Regions from separate parts of the Homo sapiens genome. Here regions 1, 2, 3, 4, 6 and 7 are each linked to region 5. The links are contacts of gene promoters, found by promoter capture Hi-C in blood cells and fetal thymus (Javierre and others, 2016). All regions are on one chromosome and are shown on one strand. The core of a region is centred on a gene start or on the middle of the fragment in contact, and the rest is flanking DNA. Distances in the headings are between cores, read along the strand shown.

Region 1 (2,833 bases), core at 217-2,716, 2.1 Mb after region 5:
ACTATTTATTTATTTGCATGCTCAATACCTATGATTTATATTGTACTTAAAAATAAATAAGAATACATGTAAACTGTTTAGAATGGTATTTGACACAGTAAGCACTCATTAAATGTTAGGTCCTATTGCTTTTATTATTCTTTAAATAAATTCCTAATAAACTTTGGATGTTGATATAGACAGAAATAAAGTTAATTTATTTAATGCCATAAAATACAATTCTGACTTTCATTCTGTTATGTAAATCTTAAAGTTATATTGCTAGACTATAGGACTATTTATTCAAGTAACAGATTTACTTTTTTCAAATTTTTCCCATGTAGAAATGTTCTGGGAACCTCGAGTTATGTTAATTAGACAGGAGGTGGAAACATAGCTGAGGTATAATTAATGTGTTCTATTTTACAAAACATTTTACATTAGAATAAAATCGTGTCATTTCCATATGAAATGTAAACTAAGTTTAAACACCCCTTGGGCCTTGGGATTGACTCTACTTTTAAAAAGATAAACAAAGGAATACTTCAGAAAGTGAAATAAAGGCCTAACATGCTGGGTTTGGTAAATTAGTTAAAACAAAGCATGGTAGCACTGACAAGGAGAACTTCCACTGAATCATTTAAAAACAGCTTACTGCAGCCTTGACTTCCTGGGCTCAGGTGATCCTCCCACCTCAGCCTCCCAAGTAGATGGGACTACAGGCATGTGCCACCATGACCAAATAATTTTTTGTATTTTTTTTGTATTTTTTTTTTTTTTTGTAGAGACAGGGTTTCATCATGTTGTCCAGAATGGTCTTGAAATCCTAGGCTCAAGCAATTCTCTGGCCTCAGCCTCCCAAAGTGCTTGGATTACAGATGTGAGCCATCACACCCAGCTACCTGTATTCTTAAAATCTGATTTTAAGTTTGTCTAAACTTAACTAACTTGTCTAATCTTGTCAATAAGACATTCTGGCATTTAAGAAGTAACACAGAATCATGTATTAACTATAAATTAATAAAAACCATCAACAATAAAAACACGCACTACAGCCATGGTTCAGGCCCACTGAGGCTGAGGAAATAAAAAACAGGTGTGATACTTCCATTATGGTCAAATAAAATTTCTAGGCAAGCTGTAACATTTTTGAGTTGGAATTTTAAGTAACAGAGATTCAAGAACAAATTACAAAATGATTAAAGTTAAATTTAAAAGGCAAAGAACCATTAATAGGTATTTAACAGAAATCTCTTTTTGAACAAAATACCTTGTTGGAAAATCAAGAAGTTCAACCAACTTGTTTCCACCCCAATTTACTCTTAACTTTATTTAAACTGTTCTACTTACTCAAGCATTTATGAATATCAAAGTTGTATTATATATTACGTGAGAGCTCCCGCTCAGTAATAACTATGATTCTAGCTAATGTGCATAGGTAAACAGGCCGTAAGAGCCAGGGCTTAACATTTTCTCACCTGGTAACTTTCGTAATTCGATTTTTCCTTGTGACATACCTAGAAACCTTTATTACATATGCAGTAGGCACAATCCAGGACACATTTACGAATAATTACCTTCTCTCAATTGGGAAGACAAGGACCTATGGTAACAGCTCCATAATTATGAGTAACGCTTAAGTCAAGAAAAACACCAATCCTTATTCTTCCCCACTATTTGAAGGGAACCAACAAAACAATCCTTAAATTATTCATCATCATTACTTCCACCTGTGATCAATTATCAATGAATTAAAACATATCTAAGGTTTGCTCATTCGTATTGCCTACCAGGATTGGTGAAATGTAGGGAAAGAACAAAGAAGGTCACTAGTCTAACATTCTAGGATGGGAGCTGGCAAACTTTTTCTGTAAAGGACCAGAGAGTAAATATTTTAGGCTTTGTGAACCAAAAGGTAAAATTGAGGATACCATGTAAGTATTTAATAAGAGAAAAAAAATTTATTGATGAAATTCAAACTATAACAACAATAATTGAAAACAATTTTTTGATAACATAGGTCTAATAATGGGAAGAACAGATTTTTTTTTAATTCAGGATAATGTTTGGCTTAAATAGTGTTAATGTCCACTATTATCAAACTGATTGCAGATATTCTCAGGAGGCTGAGGGCCACAATTTGCCAACCCTTGCTCTAGAATATTGAGGCAAAAAAAAATTTATTGTCTGTCATTGAACAAATATTTCTCTTTTATTCATAAAACTTCAATCTATGATGAGAGGTACTCTAAGTCAGCAGAATGGGGTAGTGAAAAGAAATCTAACTCACTAGAGCCTGAGTTAAAATAACTTAAGTCCCTACTGCCATGTATTGTGTGACCTTGGACAAAGCACTTAACCTCATCCTCCTCCCATCCCTTGGTGCTTTCAGAGTAATGCAAACATGGTAGTATATATTTTAAAAATAATTTGTTTCTCTTGTAGACTAGACTGTTGGGAGCTCTTCAGGGTATGGACCGCCTCCTAATCTTTGTGTCATGAACTAATAAAATGGTCCTTGTCACAGAGAAAATGAATAAATGCTTACTGAAGCTCATTAGTCTGTTAATACACTACCTAGAGTGTTTCATTTTTAACATCCAAAAACTAACCCATTTAAAAACTGCTTTATTTTTTTTCCTCTACCCTAAATCATTAATTCCTAACTTGGTTATAGTCTGAAAGACTTTCCAGAACATATACAAATTCAGCTATGATACAGTTAAACAAATTAGGGATTGTCATGTGGTAATTTTAAATCAAGAGTCTTTTTAAATGTCACCCATATCACCTAATAAAGTTTAGTTATTATTAAATTAGTAAAATAAGTTACATACAATGGACTTAAGAGTAA
Region 2 (2,819 bases), core at 12-2,511, 2.4 Mb before region 5:
GGAATGGAGCTTCCTGGTTTAAAAAAATAAGAATGCAAGTCTTTTGGCACACCTCCAGTTTCCCCATCATCAACTTATTTTGACCAAGAAAATCAGGTAAGGAAAATGCTCTCTGTACTACAGAGGACACTTTAGTGATGTCTACACAATAGCCATTACATGGGAAAACCAAACCAAACCAAACCTACCTGTCAACTTCACTGCTTGTTGGCCGAGCCACCTTGGCTCCTGAAGACCCTAAAGTATAATTTTCCTGTCCTACAGAACCATGGCCTGTGGTATCAATCACCATGGCTGTTACTTCCTCTGCACTACTCCCATCTTCTCCAGAAGGCTGATTCTCAGGCCCAAGCCACTCCTCCAGATTTTCAGTTTTGATGTGTACTGCTCCAAGAACTCTAACTTCATCATCACTCCGACCCCCACGGTCCGCCACTCCTGTCTCCACATACCACTGTCCTGCTCGGTTGATCCGAAGAATGGGCTCCCGGCTCTCTACATCAGAACTTGGTTCAATGATCTGAGGGCTGGTGGACTCCTCAGGAGGACTTAGCTCTCTGATATCCAGCACAGCACTAACCTGACCTCGCCGGTTTCCCTTTGGGGTATTATGTCGTGGGCTAAGGGAGCGGTTGAGATTTGGTGTAACCCTGTGAGACTCTGGAGGTCTCTCTTGATGCTTTGTCCTTGTTTGACTTAATTCTGCTTCAACCTCAGCCACATTAATTTTGAAATGAATGCCCTCCAGGATCTGTGTACATTTGTCTATAATATGCTGCATTTGCAGAAAACTGGCAGCTGTTAGGTAGCTGATGATATCTGCCAGTTGCAGGCATATCCGCCCTGTGTAACAGAAAGAAAGGAGCTGTTCAAAAACAGTAGGGTTCTTGATGACTGAAATGGAGACTGTACTCATCTCATTCAAGGACATGTGATCCCGGAAATAGGGGGAGCTGGCAGCCAGCACCACTTTGTGAGCCCGAAAAGCTTGTCCTTGCACATTGACCACAATATCACAGAGACGGCCCTGCATGCGCAACTGGTTTAGATGGCTCAGGACAGAGTTGCTGAAGTCAGGAATCTCCAATTGTATGTTCCCACCTTTCTCCATGGTCGTGCCTGAGGGTGCATTCAACCCTGCTGAAAAAAGAAACCATATTCTCATTAATAATTATAATTTTACTTCCCGGATGGTTTCCATTTCAAAAGTATTTAAACATAGTTATCTGGTAAAGTTTCAAAATCTCCAGATAAAAGAAATACCTTCCTTATATTTAGATGTGGAAACAGAATCACCAACAGGTTTTTCAGTTTAAGTTTCACAGGAGGACATAGTTAAAACTAAAAAGTGATCTTTAGACTCCTAAAAATTCATGTTATGACCATGCTTTCCTTACTAATAAGTTATATAACATCAAAACAGAAGTTCAACAGAAGGTAGGGGGAAGGACTTTTAAGTGTTAACTATAAGGTACTTGCAGACTGAATATAACATCTCATAACTTTACAACTTTTCTCTGGAGGAGGAAAGCTTTCTGAATAAATGCAATTCTACATAGCTTGATATCCCTCTTCTTAGTATTTTACTACCTGCTGCAAGAATTATGTTTATTATTTTATAAAAGGACTAATATCCCACATGAATGTAGGCTAATATTTCTAAGCTTAAGAATCAGAGCCCCCCCCACAAAAAGACTTTGGTTATAGGGCTGTGAAGCAAACTCTAGGAAAAATCCCACAGCTGTGCCAGGATTCAACCAAGATGCAGAGAATGTGAAGTTCAGTTGTCAAAATTAGGAAAGCTGGGTAAATCTGCCAAATTCGAAGTTGGCAATTCCGAGGTGGTGATGAATACTTCCATCCTGAAACTTAGTTCTCCAGATCCGATGAAAAAATACAGCATTTACCAAGTATGCCAACATTTTTCCATTAAAATATTTTTAAAAAATGGCTGAAACACTAAACCTGAAGCTGTATACAAGATAGTTGAAAGTACAGTTTCAACTACTGAAAATAGTTTGTATAAATCCGAACAGGAAGACATTTACTTAAGCCCAATGTGCGTTCACTTATCTATATATTACATAGTTACACCACACCTGAAACTTCAGGAACTTACTCTGCCAAGCTCACAGTACTGCCCCGCATTAACAACACACTTATTAAATAGGGAAGTGTATACACTGTTTTCAACAATCAACTTTAGCCAATCTGACCTTTTTCCAAAGCGTTATTGTTTGTTTTGAAACTTTTAATCCAATAAGAGCCTCTGTCGATGCCATCATGAATTCAGATGTGTTTATTTTGGAGCCTACACCAGCGCCTTTTTTGTTTGCTCTTTCCGGCAATTCCCCAGTGAGGAAGCCCCTGGAGGAAAGTCTTTCGCTACCGTCGGCACTGGAGGGGTGAGAGCTGTAAAAGGGAGAATTGGGAACGGCATGGGGTTGGCCACTCCAGCACTTGAGCAGCTTTCTTCTGCGTTAGGAAGCCTGGGGAGAGGGGAACTGGCTAAAGGGCAAAATGTCACTGAGGAACTTCGGAGAAGATGGGGACAAGGCGTCGGGCGGGGGAGCCAGCGCTCAGGTGAGAACTAGGAAGGGGGCGGCGCCCAGGGACCGGCTCCAGGCGGCGGCGGGCGGGGAGCTGCCAGGAGGTGGGTGTGCGTATCTGGGTGTGTCCCGGCTGCGGTGGGGGAGGGGGCCGCCCTTCCCGGGGTCCTGAGGGAGGGGCCCCGCGAGGGGGCGGGTCCGGCAGATCAGCCCGGCCGGGGGCCAAGGGGGTGGAAGGTCGCCCGGTGCCTGGAGGCGGGGTGAAGGAAA
Region 3 (2,700 bases), core at 64-2,563, 2.5 Mb before region 5:
AGCTTCCTCATTATGCTGCAGTATTAGTTCTGTTGTCCTCATTTTTTCATATGAAGAATGTGAAGCTAAGAGTAGCTATGTAACCAGCAAAAAGATCACATAATTAATAGGTAAAAGAGCTTACTCAGACTCAGATCTTGTGACACAAATTAGATTCTTTGCCACTACCACATGTGTCACAGTTAAACTTTGAAGCATCTTCTGTGTTGACAGATTCCTTTTTTTGCCTGTGAACTTACCCTATTATCATTATTTGTATCCTGTCAGATATCTACTTGTAAGACCAAGAAAGTATTTGTTCATGTGAATCACAAAAGAAACACTTAAATTTTTGTTTTTAGCATATCTGAATGCTATAAAATATAAAAACTCATACTGTTTACATAGGACAGATTTATCATACTGCTGTAATTGTTTTCATGGTTAATTTGTTACATAGGCAATTACTAAATTGTGCCTTTGAAATACTTTATAAATTTTTTTAAATAATTAAAGATATTCAATGATGTTAAAGTTGGGTCAGCTAATATTTGAAGTTCTTAATTTATAATTTTTTTTCTTTAAGCCATAGATAATTTAGAATTCTGCAGTATTTTTCATCTCCAGATCTTAGGGCTTGAAATGGATTCTGATGGGTCTAATCAGTCCACTCTTGCATATATCTTGAAAATGGTCAGCATCCAACAAAGTGAAGAATAAACTGATAAATGATCCCTGTTTGGTGAACACCTCAGATCAGGATGTTCCTTGGCAGGGTATTCTGACCTGGTTTAGCTTTGGCCCCGTCTGTGCTCAGGGTTCAGGTATTCTGCAGGATTGGGTTCAGAGGGATTAAAATTCTCAGATTGGCCTGTATCAAAACAGTCACAGATTTTGGTCAGCCTTTTCCCAGAACCGTCTCCAAGATTTTTTCTTTTGTGTAATTCTGGAATCTAGGCTGGATTTGGACTAGCTTTAGAGGTTATGATAAAAGATTAATTTTGTCAGGCATTTATACAAAGGAGGTTTTCTTACTACAGAGTTTCTTAAGGTAGATTCCTTCTATTTTTGAAGTGTGACATTTACCAATCTGAAGTAATGTTGCCCTACATCCCCCAGACACTTAACTTTAGCATATTTATTTCTGTCCATTTTTGGTCAGGATTGTGCCTGTTTACTTATATAATATTCTTGTTTACTTTTTGTTTATTAGATACTTCTTATTAGTTTATATTGTTTTCCTGATTGAGGCTTGGGGAAAGAATTTTCCTCAAATTTAAAGTCACCTTACTTATTTGCAGATGTATGTCAGAGCAATATTCTTTTGACAGTTATCAAGCATTTTAGCAATGCTGTATGTATATATTATGAATGAATGACAGAGTCACTCATGGTCTGTCACCCAGGCTGGAGTGCAGTGGCATTATCATAGCTCACTTCAGCCTCAAACTCCTTGGTTTAAGTGTTATTCCCGCCTTACCTGGCTACTTTTTTTAATTTTTATTATTTTTATAGAGATAGCATTTTGCTGTGTTGCCCAGGGTGGTCTCAAACTCCTGGGAGCAAGGTGATCCTCCCACTTCTGCCTCCCAAAGTGCTGAGATTACAGGCATAACAATGTTTTAAACTGACACTGGTATACCTTCACTGATTATTACTGTGCACATGTGGTAATAATTTAACTTATAAGTGCATTTTATCTAAAAAATTTCCAAGATCTAAATAGCATTTGAACATGGTAGCAGTTTTTTTTTTTTTTTTTTTTTTTTTTTGAGCAAGAAAAGAGTTCTAAAGGGGTCAGTTTTATCTACAGATTAACATAATTTTTTTTATTGAGGTTAAGTCACATAACATTAACCATTTTAAAGTAAACAGTTTAGGTGGCACTTTATACATTCACAATGTTGTTCAACCACCAGCTCTAATTCCAGAATGTGTTCATTACCCCAAAAGGAAACACTGTACCCATTAAGCAGTTACTCTGTATTCCCCTCTTCCCTAATCCCTAGCAAACGCCATTCTGCTTTCTGTCTCTAATTTGAGCCAACATCGAGGAAGAGTACTCTGTACAATTGAAATTGCAGAAAAAACTTTGGGATGTGATTGTTAGGAATAAAAAACCACCTAATTCTTTGCATGCTTCTCTAAGTACAGTAGACATGCTGCCAGGGACTCTTTATGGAAGAAAAGTTGAGACTCATAGAAGTTTGCAGTTTTGTTTTGATCACCCCAGAGGGTTTTGCTCAAACTCTTAGACTCATTTGTATTTCTTCATTGGGTTATAAGAACTAAAATTTAATGTTCTATACAAATGTGAACAACTAATACTTGGTCTCCTATCTAGAACTTGTTTGCCTTTTAGGTTTTCTTAATGTATAGAAGAAACTAGGAATATTCACAAAGGATTTATTTGAAGTTACACTGGGAAACGATTTTTAGAATTTGAAGCTCTTTGATCCCTGTGAATCTAACTTTATGACTATTTTATTCAGCTAATCTTTGAGAATATTTAGAGTTTTGATTTGCGTGGCACTCTGCTTTTAATCCCTTGTTGAATAAGTGTTAGAAACCTTGATCTTGGCCCTATACCTGATCACCTCTAAAAACATGAACAGTGTTACAAAGGCAGTTGTTTAGTAAGCTTTTTTGGATTGTTTTAATTGGCTGACTGAGGGAGACAAAATTAGTTTTTTTTTTTCTTTCTAGAATAAAGGGTAATAA
Region 4 (2,700 bases), core at 34-2,533, 2.2 Mb before region 5:
ACTTTTCAGAAACAACTTCTGTATTTTATTCTATTAAAAAGCTATTAATTCTTAATATTACTTTTGATTTATTGTAGAACAAGACTCATTAGTTCCAAGCAGAATTTAGTAAGATTGAAACTCTTTTTTAAAAATTTAAATTATTACATGCTGAATTTTAATCAGTGAAACCAAAGGTTTTCTTCCTAAATGCCTACCTGCGCATTGGCTTTCCTTCCATGCACCATGAAAAGTACCCTTCACCACACTCTAAAGCCGAACCTAAGACAACAGAAAAGCAGGAACTTAATAAAAGCTATTTCTGATCTTTACAGTAACAATCTTTATATAATCATTTCACTCATTTCGTCAGTTATCAAGAGTTTCATATCCTATTATACCACAGGCCTTCTGCAGATGCACAATAACTTAATCTAGTACATTTAAGATTACCATCCTTACTCTGCATGCTAAAACGATTAAAGTAAAGGTGAGGGAAAGTATGCTAAATAGTCCCGACTGTTAGGTCAGTCTTGTTTCTCTTCAAAAAGTGCTTGGAGATATTTAACTGTGATCTCGACATCAAGTATATTTACAGAACAAGCACCAGATACCCACAGCAGTACTAACCTGATAGATCACATAGGGTACACGAGGCTTTAATAACGAATCTGAAGATTGTTAACTTGTCCCGAAGTGACAGGAGGAGGAGGCGTCTGCATTTGCCTTTACAAACAACTCCGCTTCCGACAGTCCAGGGAGCTTGAACAGGGCAGGGAAAGTATGGCTCCAGACTAACACTCTTTACAAGCATTTCCTTCAGTCCCCGATACAATGTTCACTACCCACGTAGCAGGATTTCGCCAGGTCCCGAGGGTTAAATGGGGGCGCACGTACTTTCTTCCTTCCCTGAATTCCAAACACTGTCTGGGGAAGCTGTCCAGGATGCGAAACCCCAGCACCACCAGGCAGGACAAAGCCCGGGGCCTCCTCTGGCTCCCGAGATAGGCTGTCAGCCAGCGAGAGCGCACTCTGGCGCTCCGCGAGGCCCGGCCCCAGCGCCCCAACAGTCTCTTCTCGGCGCCGACTGACAGGCGACCGACCTGACCCCATGGGGCAGCTCAGCAACTTGGGACCACATATCTGCGAAGCGAGCCCTGGGGCGCTGTCCGCTGTCCCCTGCTCTAAGGTGACTGGCTCACTTACCGGCTCTGACACTTTCTTCTCTGCAGCAGCCTCCTCCGTCTACTCCGCCCTCCACTCCTCTCTGCCTCCTCCTCCACCGCCGCTAACGCAGGCAGGATGCCGCTCGTAGAGCTATTTCCTTTCCCTTCACCGGCCCATATCCAGAAGCAGGAAGTAGTCCTATTCTTAAATCGTTCCCGCAGGAACCCACATAATCCGCCAAGGGGTTCCGGTGCGGCTCCGGAAGTAGTCGTGCCCTTTGCTGGGGCATTCAGGTAACCTCAGAGGTTGTTTATCCTCGTGGGGGTTCCTTGTATCCCAAGAGTAACCATTTTTAGAATTCACTGCGGAACTGGCAGTATTTGAATACTGAAGCCTCCTCTTTTCTTCTTTGTTTTCGCCAGCAAAGGCAGTAAAGGGTAGTCACAGAAAGCTAAGAATTTGTATTTCTTTTTAGTTGGTGGGTCTCCTTTTGGCACAATGTTCCTAATTGTGGATTGAATTATTGCATGCACACATGGGTTGGCATGTATCTGTCAGGCCTCTACTATGTGCAAGGTGCAGAAGTTAGATAGACAGACCAGAGATAGACCTTATCCTCCAGATTTCCCACGGTCAAACTTTCAGGACACCAGGATTTTATCCAGGCTCTAAGGCTGTGTTAGTCTGCCCTTTCTACTTAGTATTCACCACCAGACACTTCACCAAACACATCTTCTGTGGATTCACTTTAATGTTAAGGAGGGAAGAGTATATTTTCTTAAAAAAATTTTTTTTCAGTAGCAAGCAGAGCCAAAAAAGTATATTTTTAAAATTATCTTTTCCTCCAGATTTTCCCATAGCACACAGCCACCTGATTTTTACCGTATATTAATATTTAGAAAACAAGTGATACAAGTGTAAGGTGGGGATTACAATTTCAGGAATATCAGAGAAAGACTGTTGCTGATTTCCTGGTAAGTATACTAGGCTAAGTATTAACCAGATTTTCTTTAGCTGTTCTTTATGTAGAATCTACACAGGTGTGTCCAGTTGTTTCTGAGGGGAAAGGATACCTCTTGTTAATTAGCTTGTAGTGGAAAATACATGGCCTTTAGATCCAGATATAGTGGCCCAGTGGATTCTTCTTGCCTGCTGCCCAGATACAGATGATTTATCAAGGTATAGGGATTGCAATGGAGAAAGAGTTTTACACAACATCGAGTGGAAAAATGGAAGAAGTTTTATTATTACTCAAATCAGTTATATTATTACTCAAATCGGCCTCCTGGAGCATTTGGGGGCTAGGTTTCTTTTCAAAGGTAGTCTGGGGAAAGGGGTAGGGGTGGCTAGGCAATGGGTGCTTGCTGCTGACTGGTGCAGTCATAGGGGTATGGGAGATGGTCCTCCTGCCTACTGAGTTGTTTCTGGGTGGAGCCACAGGAACAGTTGGTGGGTCCAGGTGGAGCCATCAGTAGTCAAACATGCAAAAAACTTAAAAATATACCCAAAAAGGCCAATCCTAGATTCTACAATAGTGATGTTATCTGTAGGAGT
Region 5 (2,700 bases), core at 169-2,668:
CCAGAAAAGATGCTGCAGTGCATCTGTGACACACACCTAAAAATGGCTCCAGTCAAAGCAGCATCTTAATTACCAATATGGGAGGTGAAATCTAGTTTTGAAAAATGGTGGGGTTAGGCTTGGTAGGTGCTTAGTATCACCCTATTATTTTTATTTGCAGGAGTAAGCTATTAAGTACTCAACAATCAAAAAATCCTCCGATTCTTCTGGTGCATTCCAAATGAAAATCTTACAGCAGAGCCGCCTACTGTACAATTCTAAGTACTCTAACGAGGTATGAATCTATGAACCCAGGCTGAAAACCAGCCAATGCGGAAATCCAGGTAGCTTTATAAGCCAGCAAACATCAGGCATGTCAGACCCTCAAAAGATCCCAAATAATGTCAAAACACACATACATCCCTTTAAATTAAAGGTACTCCTCTCATGCAAAGGAAGGAAGACTCTATCAATGTCTCTATAGTGGCCCCATGCCCTTTTCTTCAGTCCTAAAACGGGGCCTTTACCCTGACACCACCAATATCAACGCTATCTCAAAGACAGGGAGCTACCGAGATTCACCACGCAAGTTAGAGGATGGAGCGGCCTAGAGTGTGAAAAGACTACCCAAATCCTCCTCCGGAGTTGGGCAGCACTTCCCTAGCGGAAGTAGGGTTGGTCTTGATTCCCCGAAGAGCCTCTCATCTAACCAGGTCTTTAAACCAGACCCTCCCATACATTGCTCATTGCAAGTCCCACCCTCACTACACAGGAAGAGGTAGACAGTGAAAGCCCCGGCTGAGTCCTTCAGTTGTTTGGGGAAACGCATACCCGACACTAAAAAAAAAAAAAAAAAAAAAAGACTTCACGTCCGCCAGTCCAGGAAGACGGAAACCCCCTTCGCTTACCCGGCAACATGCGTAATCCCCTCGCAGGGCCAGGACTGGGGTCTAGGTGGGAGCAAGACAGACCGGTCCAGAACTCCCGCTGCAGACCACATGGGGCGGGTCTGACTCCGGTTTCCCGCTCCCCAAGCTGGAGGCCGACTTCCCCAGACACAGAGATGATGGTAACCAAACAGAAGGGAAATGCCCGGACCCAAGGCCCTCTCCACGCGGCCCCCTAGCCTCCGGGCGCCAGGGTCTGGGTGCGCTCCCACGCCCCAGGCCGCACTCTGGCCGTTCCCGATGGGGCCCTCTTTGATCGCGGCCCCCACACCCTCGCTTTCCTTACCGGTCAGGGTGAGTGTCAAGTTTGCGCACTTCGAGGGTCTCCGCCGATCTCTGATCGAAAGAAGGGGGAGGGAAAGCTGGGGTTAAAGGGGTGGCCGGAAGGGCCACCAGACTGGAAAAGCCGAAGCTGCGGATGGACAAACCGCCAAAGCACTTTCGCAGCTTTCCGAGGGGGAGCGAGCGAGCGAGAAAAAGAAGCAAGATGGCGGCTAGCCAGCCCCTACGTACTACGTCATGACGCTAAGTACGTAGGTCAAATCTCCGCAAGACCACACTCCTGCGCAGAGACGGCCGGATCACGTGAAGCCTCCGTGGCGGCCCAACCCCGACAGAGGGTGCTGGCGCTTCCTGCTGGACGGAGGGAGTTTCTGCAATCAGAATTATCTTTTCAGGACAAAGCTTGGACCTGAGACCTTTCTAAGAAGTCTTGAATTGACCACGTTTACAAGTTGATAATAAGCCTCAGTGAAATGAGCACTCTTATGTCTGGTGGGTGGATGTGTAAATGGTTGAACCAGCAGTTCGCCAGTATGTCTCAGTGAATTTGGGGCAAGCTGAGAAGTCTTGGTGTATTGAAAAGTTATCACAGAGAGTGAAAGTAAAACTAGTGTGAGGAACAGAGTAGCATGGGCTGCTGAGAGCACTTTTTAAGTTTCTAATTATGGATGTGAGATAAGCCATTCAGTTTATTTATATGATCTCTCCATCACAGTGTTCAGCTCCGTTGAATAGTAAGATTCACCCATGCTGGCTTTTACTAGGCAAGTGTAACATAGGCAGATGAGTGTATCTGGAAGTGGGAGACTACAATGATGATAATATTATGTCAGAACAGATGGCGAATGTTTAGTAAATGGTATCTTTTGTCCTCTTTGTGAACTACCTATGACATATTTAAAATTCAAGGATTTCTTACCACTTCTGGTCTGAACGATCTTCCCCGCCAGTAGCTGGTGTATGTCCATGGAATTGTCACTGTAGCAATGTTAGAATAAATGAAATAATAAAGAGAGGTAAATTATGAACACCTCCCTCCCCACTAATATTAATTTGAAGTAGAAAAGTCTGGACTTGCTTGGTGGCTCATGCCTGTAATACTAATACTTTGGTAGGTCAAGGCAAAAGGATTGCTTGAGACCAGGAGTTCAAGACCAATCTGGGCAACATAGTGAGACCCTACCTCTGCAAAAAAATTAAAAAGAAAAAAAGCTAGCTAGGCATAGTGGCACATGCTTATAGTCCTAGCTACCTGGGAGGCTGGAGGCAAAAGGATCACTTGAGCACAGGAGGTTGAGGCTGCAGCGAGACTCTTTCTCGAAAAAATAGAAAAGAAGAAAAGAAAAAGTTTTTTTATTGATATAGGGTCATTGCCAGGGGAAAGCCTACTGATCATCCACAAGAGGACAAGGAAGCATTACTTTAGTGAATTTCTACAACCTTCTAGGATCTGGTCTATAGTGTCCTGGTCACAGAAACATCTTTCTTTGTT
Region 6 (2,937 bases), core at 408-2,907, 2.5 Mb before region 5:
GAGGCTGAGGCTGATCACTTGAGACCAGGAGTTTGAGACCTGGCCTACGTGGTGAAACCCCATCTCTACTAAAAATGCAAAAATTAGCCAGGCATGGTGTTGCACATCTGTAATCCCAGCTACTCTGCATGAGAATGGCTTGAACCTAGGAGGTGGAGGTTGCAGTGAGCCAAAATCGTGCCACTGTACTCCAGCCTGGGCAACAGAATGAGAATCTGTGTCAAAAACACAAAAACAAAAAAAGATGATGCCTTTGAGTCTGGTCACATCATTCTGCCACCTCTTTGATAATTAATGAGGGCTAATGCCCTCTTTAGTGTAGCACATTTGTATATAATGCATAACTTGAACCTGGAGATTCAAACTACATACGTAAAGTTAAAGACTGTCTTACTTTCTCAGGCACTCTGTTTCAAACTCAGGTCAGGCGGCTTCTCCATGAATGATTTTGTCCTTTCTTACTACTTCTCCTCAATCTGGTATTAGGTTGGAGATAGAAATTTTTCTTTTTGCCTCTGAACGCTGAAAAAGTAAGCAACCTGAATTAACCCCTTGAACTTTCCTCCACCTTTCTTTATCAAGTTCTATTTTTCAAGCTATTTTTTCCCTCTAACTCAGAAGCCCTTCTCTTTATGCCTGTCCCAAGTATTTATCCATTTGTACTAACATAATCATATTAAATTATTTACATCCAGGATTTTGTATATATAGGGTTACAATTCAGTCCATACATTTTGGGAAGATGTATTTTTACAATCAAAACTGGGTCTTTGTTCACAAGATATTATTGCTGGAAAAACCTTGAGCCTCAAATTTTAGACTCTATTTCCACTGTAAATTAGTTGATGCTCTGCTGAGGATTAAAAAATTAAGTGTTATAATAGGCCTTCATTAGTTTTCTTCTTTGTGTTTTTATCTCCTGCTTCTAGCTTCATTTTTCAAGGCAGTGAAACATTTTCTCTTCTCTGATGTGGCCCTACATGCTGGTTGCTATGGAAATGTTCCAGAGAAATGAAAAATTAAGTTAAGGTCAAGAATAATGAGTTAAAATCTCATCTCATCGGGCATAGTGGGAAGAGAGCCAAGATTTTCTTCTTACAGACAGTGTGGTTTTGTTTGATAAAAACATTTTTCACAGGCCAACTTATATTTCAGATATGTAAGACCTGGTGTTAATCCCAGCTCAACAGTTTATTGATTTGGGGCCGTTACTTAATGCCGCCAAACCTCAAGTTATCTTCTGTAAAATGGGCATAGTAATGCCTCAGAGGAGTGCCTGGCTCAGAGTAGATAGTTGAATTTTAATTTCCATTTTTCTCTCTCTAAATCAGGAACATATAAAATGAACCTATAATAAAGGAGATGGTAATAAATGTGTCATATGTTTAAATGAAATCTTCACAGCAATGTAATTTAGCTATTTAATAGGGCTATTGCTGTGCTCATAGAACAGATTCGAATAGTTTCTATGTTTCTACATTATTACTTAACATTTTTGAAAACTAAGACTATTAAAAAGCCCTTAATGACTATTTTAACAGCTTTATTGAAGTATAATTTACATACCATAGAATTCACTTATTTTAAATACACAAATGATTTTTAGTAAATTTACAGAGTTGTGCAACCATTACTACCATACAATTTTAAGGCATTTCTGTCACTCCCAAGAGCTCCCTTGCCATAATTACTATAAACTTTTATTCGTGTGGTGGCACAAATTATAGAGTTTCAAAGTACCAGCCTGGGAGTTTGGCTGTCCTGAGTTTGAGTCTTAGTCGTGCCACTTTCTAGCTTTGTGACTTGGGTACTTTGGTTTCCTTATCTTTAAAATGGGCATAATAACTACATTACAGTGTTACTGTGAACATTAATTAGATACTGTATATAGAGCACTGAAAGTATAATATCCTAGTTTTTGCTTCACAAATGTTGGTTATTGGTGGTAGTCCACATTGTGGATATTTAAATAAGAGAAACATCTGAAAACACCTAGCACAGTGACTGACACATGATTGATTTTCAGAAAACAAAGCTGTTCTACGTCTTTCCAGATGCATCATGTCATCACAATTTTGTCTGTAGTTGCTCATTGACAATGTTTTAATCATACTTAAACATCGATGCTCACAATATGTAGTTATTTGTTATTTTGCAGAGGCATACATTTGAATTTAACAGCTAAGGGAGCTGTAAGACTTGGAGTTTGGTATCTACAAACTAGTTACTTAGCTGGTGGACCCAAGCAAGTAGCCTTGTTGTTTATAATTCATATCTTTCTTTCTCTCTCTCTCTTTTTTTTTTTTTTGGTGGAGTTTTGCTCTCATTGCCCAGGCTGGAGTGCAATGGCACGATCTCGGCTCACCGCAACCTCTGCCTCCCAGGTTCAAGTGATTCTCCTGCCTTGGCCTCGCGAGTAGCTGGGATTACAGGCATGTGCCTGCTAATTTTTGTATTTTTAGTAGAGACAGGGTTTCTCTATGTTGGTCAAGCTGGTCTCAAACTCCTGACCTCAGGTGATCTGCCAACCTCAGCCTCCCAAAGTCCTGGGATTACAGGTGTGAGCCACCACGCCCAACAGTTTTTTTTTTTAGAGATGGGGTTTCTCTGTGTTGCCCAGGCTGCAGTGCAGTGGTGTGGTCATAGCTCACTGAAACCTTGAACTCCTGGGATCAAGCATACCTCCCACCTCAGCCTCCTGAGTAGCTGGGACTACAAGTACGTGCCACCACACTCTGCTCATTTTTTATTTTGCTTATAGAGACAAGGTCTTGCCTTTTTGGCCAGGTTGATCTCAAACTCCTGGTCTCAAGTGATCCTCCCACCTCAGCCACCCAAAAGTGCTGAGATTGCAGGCGTGAACCACAGCACCTAGCTGAAATAATTTTTTTATTTTGATAATAAGATCTTTATTTCTTTGTTAAGAAAAAAAACCTG
Region 7 (2,700 bases), core at 6-2,505, 2.3 Mb before region 5:
CAGTAAGTATGATGGAAGTTCTTTATTTTATCTAATTCTTTAATTTTAATTTTTTTTTTTGACACAGGGTATCACTCTGGTGTGCACTCTGGAGTGCAGTGGTGCAATTTTGGCTCACTTCAGCCTGAACCTCCTGGGCTCAGGTGATTCTCCCAACTCAGCCTCCCAAGTAGCTGGGACTACAGGCACATGCCACCACACCCAGCTAATTTTTTGTATTATTATTATTTTTTTGAGATAGAGTCTTGCTCTGTTGCCTAGGCTGGAGTACAGTGGCGTGATCTCGGCCCACTGCAACCTCTGCCTCTGGGTTCAAGTGATTCTTTTGCCTCAGCCTCCTGAGTAGTTGGGGTTACAGGAGCCCGCCACCACACCCGGCTAAATTTTTGTATTTTTAGTAGAGACGGGGTTTCACCATGTTGGTCAGGCTGGTCTTAAACTCCTGACCTCGAGATCCACCTGCCTCAGCCTCCCAAAAGTGCTGGGATTACAGGAGTGAGCCACCGCACCTGGCCAATTTTTTGTATTTTAGTAGAGACGAGGTTTCACTGTTGCCCAGGCTGGTCTCAAACTCCTGTACTCAATCTGCTGGCCTCGGCCTCCCAGAGTGCTGGGATTACAGGTGTGAGCCACCATGCCTGGCCTTGAATTTTTTAATTAAAAAAATTTTTTTTTCAGAATATCACTCTGTCATATTTTATCTAATTTCAATGGTAATTAAATTAAATACTTTTTTGAGCAGTAATACCGTCACATGGCTTCAAATTCAAGGGGTACAAAAAGATATAGTAAAAAGCTTCCCTCCTATCCTTGTTTTCAACGCCCTCAGTTCCTTCCCCCAGCAGCACCTAATGTTACCAGATACTTAGGTATCCTTCCAGAGACATTTCCTAACATATATACAAGCAAATACACACACACACACACACACACACACTGAATGTATATTCTGCATCCTTCCCCCAGTTTTTATACAGATGACAGCACTTAGAGTGCTGGAGTTTAACAGCTGCTCTTTTGTATACTCAAGAATACAGGGTTCTTCACTTAACAGTATTCCTTGGATTTTTTTTTCCCTATTAGAATAGAACTTCTTCATTCTTTTTTGTACGGCTGAGTAGAGTATTGTATTGTAAGAATATACATTATTTTTTAAGCCAGTCTCTTATTGGAGGACATCTGGGTGGTTCCCAATTTTTTTCCGTTAAAAAGAATCCTGAAATGAATATCCTTGTACATATGTCATTTTATATCTGTATAAGTCTAGATATAAGATAATTTACCAGAAGTGAAATTAATGGCTCAAAGGATATATGCATTTATAGTTTTGATATTGCCAAATTGCTCTCCCTTCAGCTAGTGCCAATTTGTACTCCCTCCAGGTATTGAGCACCTGCTTTCCCAAACACAGTGTGTTGTCAATCTAATGTGTTAAAAATGACAATTACATGCAGTTTCAATTCACATTTCTCTACCTATGAGTGAGGCTGGGCATACTTTCATTATGTCTACAAGCCATTTATATATTTTTTTCCTCTAAATTTTTTGTTCGTATCCTGGGTTCCTAATTCTACTGGGTCACTGGTCTTTTTGCTATGTCTTAACATTGCTTATATTTTTCAGTTTTCATTAACAATAAACTTCTGAATTTAAAACCTCTAACATATTCATCTAACTACTTAGCTTACCCCAGCAATAGCATCAAAGAAGCTTTTAGATAATAACAGGAAATTTTCTATTACCTCATCCTGGGGAATGATAACTTGAACAAGCCCATCGAAATCTCTTAGGACCAAGAATGTGTTTTGCCTGATTAATGGGGGGGGGGAAAAGAAACATTTTAAGATAAAATCTCTAAGTCCAAAGTTGAAGCATACAAAATAAAAAGCAAACAAAAATCCATGCAATTTTTCATGTTTCTTTTTTATGATAATTATAATTTTTCATGTTTTTTATGATAATTATGTACCTTCATTAGTTACATTCATGCAATTGTTATCTATGTAGCTCATTGCCAAAAAAAAGATTGTTTTTTATTTCAGTTTCAATTTTTATTGTCTACTTACCTGGTATATTAATCTTATACAGATGGCTTATTAATGAAAAATTATTATAGATGAACAATTAAAAGAAATTTCATTGGCTTAAGTCCTTTTAAGAAAATTTTATTAAATTTGGAAACTTTGCATATAGTAAAATCCAAAGATAGTATTTTAGCATAATAGAAACATCTGATGGATCATTTTTGAAATATAGCAATATAGTCTTTTTCTAAAAAAAGATACAATCTAACATTTTCTGGAAGAGTTCCAACTACTAATTTAATACCTCTATGAATCATCAAAAGGTCCCAGAAATGCCAACATTTTAACATCCAACCTCTATTTCTCATACTATCCTCAGCATCAGGAACAGGTACAGAAACCCTCTTCAGATTTGGGTTCAGGAAACAGTCACTAAACTTATGGGAAAAATATCCACCTACTTGGGACAAACTTTTTTTTTTTTCCTGAGACGGAGTCTCGTTCTGTTGCCCAGAGTGGAGTGCAGTGGCGCAATCTCAGCTCACTGCAACCTCTGCCTTCTGGGTTCAAGCAATTCTCCTTCCTCAGCCTCCTGAGTAGCTAGAATTACAGACGAGCATCACCCCGCCTGGCGAACTTTTTTTGTATTTTTAGTAGAGACGGGGTTTCATCATAT

Evidence for each region. The method cuts DNA at HindIII sites, captures the fragments that hold promoters and counts their contacts. A CHiCAGO score of 5 or more calls a contact.
Region 1: a contact is called between a fragment that was not itself captured here and the fragment with the promoter of PRRC2C in region 5, in 1 of 17 cell types (non-activated CD4 T cells). The highest score is 5.4, in non-activated CD4 T cells.
Region 2: a contact is called between a fragment that was not itself captured here and the fragment with the promoter of PRRC2C in region 5, in 3 of 17 cell types (fetal thymus, naive CD4 T cells and activated CD4 T cells). The highest score is 15.9, in fetal thymus.
Region 3: a contact is called between a fragment that was not itself captured here and the fragment with the promoter of PRRC2C in region 5, in 2 of 17 cell types (fetal thymus and activated CD4 T cells). The highest score is 6.1, in fetal thymus.
Region 4: the fragment with the promoter of KLHL20 here is called in contact with the fragment with the promoter of PRRC2C in region 5 in 1 of 17 cell types (naive CD4 T cells); the score reaches 6.1 in naive CD4 T cells.
Region 6: a fragment that was not itself captured here is called in contact with the fragment with the promoter of PRRC2C in region 5 in 1 of 17 cell types (monocytes); the score reaches 6.6 in monocytes.
Region 7: a contact is called between a fragment that was not itself captured here and the fragment with the promoter of PRRC2C in region 5, in 1 of 17 cell types (fetal thymus). The highest score is 5.7, in fetal thymus.

What each region holds. Positions count from the first base shown.
Region 1 is chr1:169,372,130-169,374,962 of GRCh38, reverse strand. The region is part of intron 2 of BLZF1 (basic leucine zipper nuclear factor 1); the gene reads right to left. Among named protein-coding and RNA genes, the nearest start is that of BLZF1, 5.4 kb to the right of the region's middle. The HindIII fragment of the contact is 3,501 bases long and covers 1-2,833 here.
Region 2 is chr1:173,868,518-173,871,336 of GRCh38, reverse strand. ZBTB37 (zinc finger and BTB domain containing 37) reads right to left here. Exons shown (of 5, transcript NM_001122770.3): 2 at 2,217-2,412; 3 at 189-1,137. The coding sequence starts at 1,111. It also overlaps a transcript of GAS5 not described here. Among named protein-coding and RNA genes, the nearest start is that of ZBTB37, 1.5 kb to the right of the region's middle. RefSeq lists enhancers at 1,065-1,164, 1,679-2,819 and a silencer at 2,513-2,819. The HindIII fragment of the contact is 544 bases long and covers 990-1,533 here.
Region 3 is chr1:174,016,835-174,019,534 of GRCh38, reverse strand. The region is part of intron 1 of RC3H1 (ring finger and CCCH-type domains 1); the gene reads left to right. Among named protein-coding and RNA genes, the nearest start is that of RC3H1, 4.2 kb to the left of the region's middle. The HindIII fragment of the contact is 2,618 bases long and covers 5-2,622 here.
Region 4 is chr1:173,713,564-173,716,263 of GRCh38, reverse strand. KLHL20 (kelch like family member 20) reads right to left here and starts at 1,283. Exons shown (of 12, transcript NM_014458.4): 1 at 1,186-1,283; 2 at 198-261. The coding sequence starts at 220. It also overlaps a transcript of ANKRD45 not described here. RefSeq lists enhancers at 740-1,109, 1,190-1,379. The HindIII fragment of the contact is 9,904 bases long and covers 1-2,700 here.
Region 5 is chr1:171,484,248-171,486,947 of GRCh38, reverse strand. PRRC2C (proline rich coiled-coil 2C) reads right to left here and starts at 1,418. Exons shown (of 35, transcript NM_001387844.1): 1 at 1,213-1,418. RefSeq lists enhancers at 865-1,613, 1,520-1,829. The HindIII fragment of the contact is 3,004 bases long and covers 1-1,612 here.
Region 6 is chr1:173,998,750-174,001,686 of GRCh38, reverse strand. All of the region lies in intron 1 of RC3H1 (ring finger and CCCH-type domains 1), which reads left to right. Among named protein-coding and RNA genes, the nearest start is that of RC3H1, 22 kb to the left of the region's middle. The HindIII fragment of the contact is 4,144 bases long and covers 1-2,937 here.
Region 7 is chr1:173,827,442-173,830,141 of GRCh38, reverse strand. It overlaps DARS2 (aspartyl-tRNA synthetase 2, mitochondrial), which reads right to left. Exons shown (of 17, transcript NM_018122.5): 3 at 1,743-1,809. Among named protein-coding and RNA genes, the nearest start is that of CENPL, 3.9 kb to the right of the region's middle. The HindIII fragment of the contact is 914 bases long and covers 799-1,712 here.